Regions from separate parts of the Homo sapiens genome. Here region 1 is linked to region 2. The links are contacts of gene promoters, found by promoter capture Hi-C in blood cells and fetal thymus (Javierre and others, 2016). All regions are on one chromosome and are shown on one strand. Each heading gives the region's core, a stretch centred on a gene start or on the middle of the fragment in contact. The rest is flanking DNA. Distances are from core to core; before and after follow the strand shown.

Region 1 (5,425 bases), core at 2,926-5,425, 550 kb before region 2:
CATGATTTGAATATGGGGGGAAATGATTTAGCAGGCTCTTATTACCTTCTAACATGTAAAGTTTGCTATTCAGGTATCTCAAGAGTGGTCCCACCCTCTTGGTGGTATGTATTTGAGTTCACAGTATTTGTTTTATAGCAGTTTTGCAAGCACATACTGTGCCACGGATTTTCCCACATTATTTTTAGACAAGGGAACACAGCCATCAAAACTGATACCATGGCCGGGCGCAGTGGCTCACACCTGTAATCCCAGCACTTTGGCGGGGCCGAGGCGGGAGGACTGCTTGAGCCCAGGAGTTTGAGACCAGCCTGAGCAGCACGGTGAAACCCCATCTCTACTCAAAATACAAAAATTAGCCGGGTGTGGTGGTGCGCACCTATATAGCCCCAGCTACTCGGGAGGTCCAGGCTGCAGTAAGCAGCGATTGTGCCACTACACTCCAGCCACGGGCAATGGGAGAGGGACCCTGTCAAAAAAAAAAAAATGGTACCAGCCAATGCCTAATATATACTTAGGTATATACTCCACTGGAGTGTTCTTTTCACATTAAACATGTAAAAAAAAAAAAATCCTATCATGCTCAAGGAGTAAGGCATGAGGATTTCTCAGCAGATCCCATGATGGGGTGGCTGCTTGGAGGGTGACCAGATAGGAGGAGAGTGTAGATGCGAAAATATTTTGAAAACTATAAAATGCAATTTAAATGTGAACGTCATCTGCAAATCCATGAGCAAGAACAGGAGAAACATGGACAAAGGGCGCGCAGGCCACGGTGCGGGGGAGTGTGGGGTCTCAGAGCACGGGGAGCTACTCAGCGGCCTCTCGGGCGACAGGGAAGCGCACACAGATCCGCAGGGAGGGGCAGCTCACAGCGCTGACGGGCAAACAGGGAAAATCCCCAAGAAATGATGGTCTGCAGGCAGGAGGGGCCGCTGGGGGCCTGGAGGGATGAGCAGGGCAGGAATCCCAGCTTCCACACTCAAGATACCATGGTCATGGAAGAAGCGACACACCATGGCACTGCCAAGGACACACTACTAAAAATGTATTAACAGTTGCACTTGTTTTAAAATTATCAGAAACAATTCAAACTTGCTTTAAATCAGGGGTGTGCACTCTTGTGGCTTCCCTGAGCCACAGTGGAAGAAGAATTGTCTTGGGCCACACATAAAATACACTAACATTAACGATCGCTGATGAGCTAGAAGGAAAAAGATTGCAAAAAAAACTCAACATATGTTTTAAGAAAGTTTACAAATTTGTGTTGGGCCTCATTCAAAGCCGTCCTGGGCCACGTACAGCCTGCAGGCCACAGGTTGGACAAGCTTGCTCTAAGTGAGAGGAATAATGTGTGACGAGTGGACACTGAGTTTTGCTGGGCCCTGGTCTCTGCCACCTGGCACGTGGGGACAGGTGGATAACACTGAAGTCACTGCAGAGGCAGCTGTCTCCTCTTTTGCTCCAAAAGAGACCCAGTAACCACTGTGCCACCAGGAAACACCAGGGTTCCCAGGAAACACTGCAGGTTCATTTTAAGGCCCTGGTCCCTGGGAACCTTAGTGCTGCAGTACAGGATGGAAGACATCGTTCCCAGCCTGGGCAGCGTGGCAAAACCTCATCTCTACAAAAAATACAAAATTAGCCAGGCATGGTAGCATGCACCTGTAGTCCCAGTTACTCAGGAGACCGAGGTGGATCCCTTGAGCCCAGAAGGTCGAGGCTGCAGTGAGCCATGACTGAACCACTGCACTCCAGCCTGGGCAACAGAGCAAGACCCTGTCTCAAAAAAGAAAAAAAAGAAGGAAATTGTTCCCAAAGTGTGTGAAGCCTGTAATAAGCAGGCAGAGACCACAATGGCTCCACTTCACAGAACTGACGTCGATTTTTATTATTTTATTATTATTATTATTTGTCTGTTTGAGACAGGGTATGGCTCTGTCACCCAGGCTGGAGTGCAGTGGCGCGATCTTGGCTCACTGCAGCCTCGACCTCCCAGGCTCAGCGATCCTACCACCTCAGCTTCCCAAGTAACTGGGACTACAGGCACGCTCCACCATGCCCGGCTAATTTTTGTAGTTTTTGTAGAGATGGGGTCTCACTCTGTTGCCCAGGCTGGTCTCAAACTCCTGGGCTCAAGGCAATCCACCCACCTCAGCCTCCCAAAGTGCTGAGATTAGAGGTGTGAGCCCCTGCAATCTATTTTTAGATGGGGGCCTGAAATCTGTTTTTAGATGAGAAAGTCAAAGCCATTATCTTCTCCTTCAATAAGGACGTGTAAGTAGAAGTTTGGAACAAGCTTACATTTAATTTGAAAACTCCAGGTGAAAGTTAAGACCCCCTGTTTACAGAAACCGAGTGAGGCTGTGGAATAGCTTGTATCCTACTGTCGAATATGGATGAACACACTTGGGTTTCAGAAATCACGTGAATTCAGAGGCTTCTTTCCTGACGCTTCGTGTACTCACCACTTTTGCAGTGCCCACTTTAAAGGAGTGCTGGTGGATGGTCCATGAAGAAGCATTGAACACGGTCACCTTGCCTTCGCTCAGAGCACACCATAACTTGGGGTGAGCATCTTCAACTTTTTCGGCTGGGTCAAGATGCCCTAAAGAGGAGAGCAGCACAAAACTGTTAGGAGGAAACACTTCTGCTGTAGCAGCAGGTGACTGGTGCCCTTACTCAGGTGCCTCCTGGGCCCTCCTAAGCGCCAGGCCCATGTTAGGTGCTGTACGTACAAAGACGTGCCCAGGCAGAGGCTTCCCTGCCCTCTGGGAGCTCAGAGTCAAGGGGGGCAGCTGGCTGGTGAGAGGGCCACAAAGACAGGGTCAGAGCCGCAGGCAGATGCAGAGCCGAATGCCTGTGAGCTTTGCTAAGCCAGGACCTGCCAGCTGAGTGAGCATTCACTAGAGGAAACAGCCAGGCAGAGGGAACTGGAAGAGGAGCAGGTGGACACAGAGGGAGGGAGGCAGGGAGGGAGGGCAGCTGGAGAGACGGCGGCAGGGGCCATGGTGCCCCCCACACCCTCATGTGCAGCGGGCTCCGCGTCTTTCCCAACACTTGCTGGCGTCCGTCCATCTTTTTAATTTCGGCCATTCTAAGGGTGTGGAGCTTTTGGCTTTTAAATTGTGGTTTAATTGCATTTCTCTAATTGCTAATGAGCCTGATGGCTTGAACTGGCCATCCCCATGCCCTCTTGTGGGAAGTGTCTGTTTTTCGTTCTCCCTAGTTTGTGGCTGTTATTTTTTTTTATTTTTATTTTTTTTTACTTTTTAATAGACGAGGTCTTGCCATGTTGCCCGGGCTGGAGTGCAGCAGTGTTCACAGGTGCGATCACAGCAAACCACAGGCTCCGAGTCCAGGGCTCTGGCCACCCTCCCACCTCACTGGGACCACAGGCACGCCCGGCCAGCTGTTCCGGTGTTCTGGATATGAGCCCCTAACTGACTCCATGGTGCTGTATTCATAAATTACGTATGACATATAAAAATACCATAAAGCAAAAGACTGGTGAATCTGACTACATTAAAAGCAATGATTTTAGCAGCACCCATTTTAAAGATCCTTCCCAGTCTGCAGCTTACATTTTCACCCTCTCAAAAGTGTCTTCTGTCCATTTCCTGTGGCAGGGTCTGGGGAAGAGGCTGTAGGCGCCGTGTCCGGCCATGAAGATGGCAAGAAGCCTCTGAGACAGCCCAAGAAGCAGGCCCAGGAGAGGGACAGAGATGATGAGGCTTCCAGCAGAAAGCAAAACAGACCAGAACCTCAAGGGGCCGAAAGCACAGGCCGCAGGGAGGCCCAGCCACAGCTGGAACTAAGACCCCTGGCGGAAAGCACGCTGCTCCCTCTGCCTGGGCGGTGGCGGCCTGGACTCCACTCCTGTTTCAACACCTGCACCCCCGCCAGGACAGCTTTTGCCATCTTCAGCTAGAGTGAGCGTTGCCCTGGAGCCTGTTGCACTTTCAAGCATAAACTTTTCTTTTTTTTTTTAAATTAAAAAAAAAAAAAAACAAAACAAAAAACTGACAGTGTCACCGGACGTCTTCAGTGGCTTCTCACCCGTCATTCCCACCTGAGCCTGCCAGAGGGCGCTCTTTGGTCTTCTACCCTCAATTTTGTGTCACCGTGAATTAAACCAGCTCATTTGAAAGGAGGAAAAAAAAAGTGTCTTCTTTTTAAAATCATTGCTTTTGGCCAGTTGTGGTGGCTCACGCCTCTAACCCAGCGCTTTGGAGTCCAAAACCGGCAGACTGCTCAAGCTCAGGAGTTCAAGACCAGCCTGAGCAATACGGCAAAACTCCATCTCTACAAAAAAAAAAAAAAAAAATACAAAAATTGGCTGGGCATAGTGGTGTGCACCTGCAGTCCAGCTAATCAGGAGGCCGAGGGCGGAGGATCGCTAGAGCCCAGGAGGCAGAGGTTGCAGTGAGGTGTGATCGCGCCACTGCACCTGGGTGACAGAGTCAGACCCTGTCTCAGAAAAAATAAAAATAATAAAGTCATTGCTTTTAATATAGTCAAATTCAACATTCTTTTCCTTTATGGTATTTTATATATAATTTATGCATTTTTTTCTTTACCATAAAGTCATGAAAATATTCTTCTACCCTATCACCTAGAAGTCTGCTTGCTTTCATTGTTCACATTTGCCTTTTACCACCGCGTTGAGGTTTCGGCCCCCTTGGGCCTGACCGCAGGGCAGTGTGAAGGGGCGAGGTTTCACCTTTCCCCTGAGGATATTCAAGCGACCCCCCGCCCTGCAGTGCTGCCTCCGTCCTGAGTCCAGAAGGGCAGGCCTCCCGGTCTTTCTGGGGTGCGATTCCAGTGGTCTGTTGCTCCCATGGGTGAGACACTGCCGTCTCTGAGAGGCACGCTCCCCATGGGCAGAGCCTGAGCTGACCTGTGGCCTGGCCTCAGGGCTGGTTCTCCTAACTCCTAGGAACCTGTCGGAGACCCAGCCCCAAGCTAATGGGAATAACAAGACTCCCCCTTCTTGATGGGGCCTGACCCCACCTCTTGTCCCTGCAATCTCACAAGGCTTGCAAAAGCCCTGCTCGGCTACCAGCTTCTCGGCCACCCCTTCCAGAATCGGCAGCCACAGGAAAAGGCGGTTTCCCCATTCCCCACGGCTGCTTTGCACGCTCTCTGCAGGCCTTCGAGATGCTCCTGGAGGGGAAGCCGCCTGAACTCCTCGCCCGTCACAACAGGAAGCTCAGAGTGAGTTTCATTTCAGGGAAACCAACCGGGACCTAAAAATACCATGTATTCAAATGCCACGGTCAAAGTATCTTGGTCTGTGGAGTCATCTCTGGCGAAGTCAGCACAGAGCCTGGCTTAGACACATCAGGTAGGGCTCACGCGGGGCGGCCCTGATGACGCTGCCTGCTCACTCAGCCAGGGTCTATCGCGTTCCTGGGTTTCTTGG
Region 2 (5,499 bases), core at 141-2,640:
ACACTTAGAGTAAGCACCTTCTTGCCCTTCTGTCAATTATTTACTACTTAATGATGCTTCCCTAAAGAATGCAGTTTAATTTTGCCTGTTTTGGAATTTTTGTGAATGGCTAGATTCCATCCTGTGAATATGAGCACACTGTTTCTCCATCCTGCTCTCCGTGGGTATTCAGTGCCATGCAGTCCAAGCGGTGATGAAGAATGCCATGCACACTCCTACCCAGGTTTCCTGGTGTTCATTACTACACATTTCAGGAGCACGTTTTGTATCGGCAACTTGGTGAAGACTGATGTCCTTTTGAGTTTTCGGAGGAAGTGCTGGTTCTCCTGCCCTTCTTCAGGGCTGTCCTCCGAGACTGCAGAGAACTAGTGACCACCCTGCTGGCTGCGGAGCTCCTGTCAGTCAGAACTCCTGTTTATTCTCCGCCCGGAACAGGGCCTTGCACCCATATGCAGACAGCCGATGCCACGGGGTGAAGGAATGCTCCGGGAAATCTGGGAAAAGGCGACCAGGCACTTTAGATTGTGGGTCAACCTCTGCCTTCTAATCCTCCATCACTTAGGGGAGAAAGGAGGTAGCCACAGGCTGGCTTTTCCAGGAAAGCCTCCGAAAACCAGACGGACCCAGAGGGACCGGACAGAAACGCTCGGAGGTGCACGACGGTCCGAGCAGGCCCCTGACTGCTGGAATGGGCGTGTCCGCTGATCTGATCCCTGATACCAGCTACAGTTTACTAAAAACTTCTTAGATTTTCTCAGTGCTTTAAACGGATTATCTGGGTTCTGGGGCCGCGCCGGGAGGTGGCGGTGTGGTCCTGCGCGAGCGGCCGGCCGCGTTCAAGTTCAAGCTCCGGGCTGGGAGGGAGCTTCCCGACCTCCGTGTTTCTGTAGTAACTTAAAGAGCCAGGCTGGGGGCCGAGGGGCTGAGGGTGGGAGGGTTCTGCGCCCCCCACCGGGGGGCGGCGGGGAAAGCGGGGGCGCGTGGCCTCCCCTCCGGCTCCGGCGGCACAGCCGGGGGGCCCGGCTCCTCCCCGTCGGGAAGACGCGGCTTCTCTGGGTGGCAGTGAAGGGTCCCCGGGGCCGCGCCCGCCCCCGCGCCACACGGGCCGCGCCGCCCTCGGCCCTCGTCCCCGCTCCCGCCCGCGGTTCCCACCGCCCGGCGAGGTCTCCGGGCCCCTCCCCGGGTCCCCGCCCCAGGCCCCGCCAGACCCGGCGCCGCCGCCGCCGCCGCCGCGGACCCCGCCCGCGCGCCCAGCCCCGCTCCCCCCGCGAGCGCGCTCCCGCCGCCGGCCTCGCCTCCCCTCCCCCTCCCTCCTCCTTCCTCCCCCGCCCCTCCCGCTCCCGCTCCCGCCGCCGCCTCCGCCCGCCGCCCCGGCCGCGTCGGGTAAACCTGTTTGGCGAGGCGGCCGCGCCGGGGCGGATCGTGCGGCCGGCGGCTCCCTCGCGGCTCGCGGCGTCGGGGCCCGTGGCGCGCGCGCGGCCGCCCCTCGGCCCCGGAGCCCCTCGGCGGCGCCACCATGTACTCGGGAGCCGGCCCCGGTGAGTCCTGGCGCTCGGGGCGCCCGCCCGGCCGTTCGCGCGCTCCTGCCCGTGGTTGGCGGGCCCGGCGCGGGCGGCAGGGGCCGGGGATCGGGGGGCCGCGGGGTCGGGGCGGCGGGGGCCGGGGGCGGGCGAGCCGGGGCCGCGCTTGGGGGCTCGAGGAGCGGCGGCGGCGGGGCCGAGCCGGCCGTTTTCTCGGCCCCGCGTTGGACGCGCAGCCCCGGCCTCCTCGGCCCCCGCGAGTCGTCGGGGCGCCCCGCGCGGCCTGGGCCCCTCCCGCGCCTCGGGCCCGCGTCCCAGCGTCCTCGCATCCCCCGCCCGGGGCCCGCGGGCTGGGGCCGGGGCCGAGGCGGCCGCCGCGTGTAGGCCCGAGGCCCGGAGCGCCCCGCTTGGCCCGGCCTCGCTGCCCGGGCGGGGATGGGGGCGCCGCAGCCCGGCCCGGCCTGACCCTGAGCGCCTGAGCGGGTGGAGGCCGGGTCGGGGCGCCCGGCTCGGGGCGCGCACGGGCGGGAGGGGAGGGGGCTGCGCCGGTCCCGACCCCAGCCGCGGTGAGTCTGTGGCGCGCTCCGTTGTGGCCCTTCTTGTTGCCGGCACTTCTTCGGCCCCTTTTCCCAAGGAAAGTCTGGAAATGCTGAATTTTGGCCAATTCCTGTAGTTAGGGCTGTCGCCTGGAAAGGGGAGGACGCGGCTCCCCGGAACCCTCAAACTGCGTGCGCGGCTCGTTCTCATTCCAGACACGCCGGCCTCCCCATTCAAGTGCTAATTCCTTTTACAATTTCCTAGGAGAGGTGAGGCGAGGTGGATTCCTGTAGCACCCCTTGTTGCTAGTCGGCCTTTCTCTGGAAAAGTTCTAAAAAACTTAAAGCGGTAACGCGTTGTTTTTCTTTTTAAATGCAGAGTAGAAGGCGGTCTCCTTGGTGGGCCAAAAAAACGGTCAGGTGTTCTCCTGCTTTTGGCGTGCTCCCACCGGGCACGTGGCTCCTGGCTCTCTCGGCCGGCCTGGCCGCTGGGACGGGGCACCGCCTGCTCCCCTTTGTCCGCTGGGCCCCAGCCGGGCCGCAGGCGGCGCAGGCCCCGCCGGGCTCTGGGCTTATGTTTACCCGGCCGGGCGAGGAGGCTCGCATTCCCGATGCTGCCCTCGTTGCTGCAGACCGGCCCCAAATTGTGGGGTCCGGAAGGCCCCCTGGCCCACCTTGGTCCGTTGATGGTGGCCCCCACTGCTGGAGCTGTTGGCTCTGTGCCTTGCGAATGTCGCGTCTTTTTTCTGATGTCATTTAGAAAGCTTCAACAAGGCGGAGTCTGACCAACTTTTCAACCCCTGAGGGCCATCAGCAGTTTGAAGAATGATTTTCCCCCTCCACCTGGGAGGGGCCGCAGTCCTGGAGCAGGTGCTGGCCTCTAGAGGCCTTGGGTGGCCAGGCCCCCTCTTGGGAAAGGACCGGGCATCCCCTTGTGAGTTGGGACCTTCCAGCTCCTCTTTGTAGAGGAACCCAGCTTATGGGACTGACAGCACTACATTTTTTCAGGTTATCGGTTTTAAAAGTTGGAGGCCCAGAAAAAGTGAAGAGGCTTTAAGGAAGGTCAAGCTTTCTGTGTTGTGTTTTGCGTGTTACTTAATTCACTCCACTTGCTGAGGTTGGTGGTGTTTGTGAAGACAGACAGCCGAGGCTCACAGAGGTTGAGAACTTCACCAAGGTCACACAGCAGTGAGTGAGTATCAGGACAATCGGTCCGACTTCCGAGCTGGTTCTCTGGGTGCCTTCCTCAGGGCAGTCCCTTTCAAGCCCTATAACCCAGACCCACAGTAAGAAGTCTCTGTTAGGGCTGGACTGGACCAGCACCTGCCCGCATACTTGTCATTGACAGCGGGGCTTCAGGAAGCCACCCCAGCTCACTGCTGTACTGTGTGCACTGCCCCGGGATGCTGTCTTGTCGATTTCATTTTTCAGCGTACCTTGGCCCTCATGATCCACAGGCTCGTTTCTGTCACTCGCTGCTTTTTGGAGATTGTTGCCTTGGTGTGGGCCTGGTAGGGAGTGGACCCTCTGGAACAGGACAGTGGTTGAAAGAATAAATGTGTCTGCAGGATAATTCATAGCTAATGGCAGGATGGGAATGAACCCAAGTTTCAGGTTGTACAAACGTGCTGTAATTATAAGTCTGTGGTGCAGTTCCATTTTATGCTACACATTAAGGCTTTTAATTTTGTGTAAAAGGAATTTTTGGAATAGTCTTCATTGAGACTCTTTTTAATCTTATACTTTCTAATTTAGAATTATAAGACATTCAATTTGAATTATAGAAAAATTACATTGGGAGGCCAAGGCGGGCGGATCACGAGGTCAAGAGATCGAGACCATCCTGGCCAACATCATGAAACCCCGTCTCTACTAAAAATACAAAAATTAGCTGGGCGTGGTGGTGCACGCCTGTAGTCCCAGCTACTCGGGAGGCTGAGGCAGGAGAATCGCTTGAACCCTTGAGGCAGAGGTTGCAGTGAGCCAAGATTGCGCCACTGCACTCCAGCCTGGGGACAGAGTGAGACTTGGAGACTCCATCTCAAGAAAAAAAAAAAAAAGAAAAGAAAAATTACAAATAGTTTTGCTACTTCCAATTGTAACACCCTTATTAGGCAACTTACTAATTTAAAAAGCAGTTCACAATAGCTCTACATTATACCAATCACAAACAAATGCTGTGACGTATGTGAATGCTATTTAGAATCTGAAGTTAGAAATGTTACTATTTTTTCGTTTTTTGAACTGAGTTAGTTGTTTAAGATGGGTGGATTCTCCAATGACCTTGAACCTTCACTGATGAACAAATTAGTTTTTTGGTTTTTTAACCATTTAAAGGTCTTGATCTGTGTCTAGTGATTGCCTGCCCCCAGGATATTGTCTCTTATGGTTTTGCTACACTTTCAAGCTCCCGTGTGTTACACCCCTCGCAGATTTGCCACAAAGTAACCTCTGTGACATCTAAGACTTGACAGTTGTCTAAATAGGATTGTGACTTTGAGAAGAGCTGAACTTCACTGTGGTTTATAGAGCCATTTAACTCCTCCTGCCCCCTCTCCCCCTTCCCTCAGTGGTCCCCATGAAGGTATGGCCACTTCTCCCAATACTGGTGCCCATCTGCCATGGCAGGATATCACCCTCTACCCGTGGGGCAGTTGACATGGCCGAGGCCATCGCGGCATGGCTGGGTATTTGTGCAGAGTCCCCCTTGGGTCTTTGATAAACCTTGGGGAATAATTTAAGTAAGTGCATAGGAAAAAAAGATGTAAACGCTTCCAAACTCCTAAACCCTGTGCAATTTGAAGAAGCAGAATTATTTTTTAACTTCTAGTTTCCATGTCAAAAGTTTCCACAATGCCAGTTGGGCTTATTCTCTGTGTGTTGTACAGTGAATGCTCTCCTGTAATGGTCCAGTCTCATAAAATGTGGTTTTGTTTCACGAATCGTTACTGTGAATCTTCAAAACATAACATTTGAGTTTTAAAAATAGTTAATATTGTGAAATAATTGAAAAGACATAAAAGTAGAGTGACTCATTTAATACCCCTCCATTTATCCATTAGGAAGCTTTAGCAGTCATCAGGGTTCTCCACATTTGCTTCAAATATGCCCCTTTTCTTTGTGGACGTTTTCCAAAGTGAATTGCAGACCTGTCATTTTACCTCGATATTTAAATATGCGTGTCTAAAGCAATGGAGACGTTTTGAACATACCCCAGTGCCGTTATGACAGTTAACAGTCTGTGATCAATTTCTCTCATATTCTCAGAAGTGTGTTTCCAGTTGGGTGCTTTGGATCCTGAATTTTAACCAAAGTTCACACACACATTTGGGTCTCTGCCTTCCGCCTCTAAAGCTAGCCCACCCTCTCTCTTCTCCCTGCATTTGACTTGTTATATTTACGTCTTCTTTTTTTTCTTTTTTTTTTTTTTGAGACGGAGTCTC

Evidence for each region. The method cuts DNA at HindIII sites, captures the fragments that hold promoters and counts their contacts. A CHiCAGO score of 5 or more calls a contact.
Region 1: a fragment that was not itself captured here is called in contact with the fragment with the promoter of AGO2 in region 2 in 1 of 17 cell types (total CD4 T cells); the score reaches 5.3 in total CD4 T cells.

What each region holds. Positions count from the first base shown.
Region 1 is chr8:141,182,322-141,187,746 of GRCh38, reverse strand. It overlaps DENND3 (DENN domain containing 3), which reads right to left. Exons shown (of 23, transcript NM_001352890.3): 18 at 2,469-2,608. Among named protein-coding and RNA genes, the nearest start is that of DENND3-AS1, 55 kb to the right of the region's middle. RefSeq lists enhancers at 2,391-3,345, 4,046-4,185, 4,266-4,315, 5,076-5,185. The HindIII fragment of the contact is 3,747 bases long and covers 2,302-5,425 here.
Region 2 is chr8:140,631,524-140,637,022 of GRCh38, reverse strand. AGO2 (argonaute RISC catalytic component 2) reads left to right here and starts at 1,390. Exons shown (of 19, transcript NM_012154.5): 1 at 1,390-1,538. The coding sequence starts at 1,517. It overlaps ERICD (E2F1-regulated inhibitor of cell death), which reads right to left and starts at 2,788. Exons shown (of 1, transcript NR_170171.1): 1 at 1-2,788. RefSeq lists silencers at 826-1,225, 1,876-2,045, 2,529-2,578 and enhancers at 2,385-3,151, 3,152-3,919. The HindIII fragment of the contact is 24,992 bases long and covers 1-2,822 here.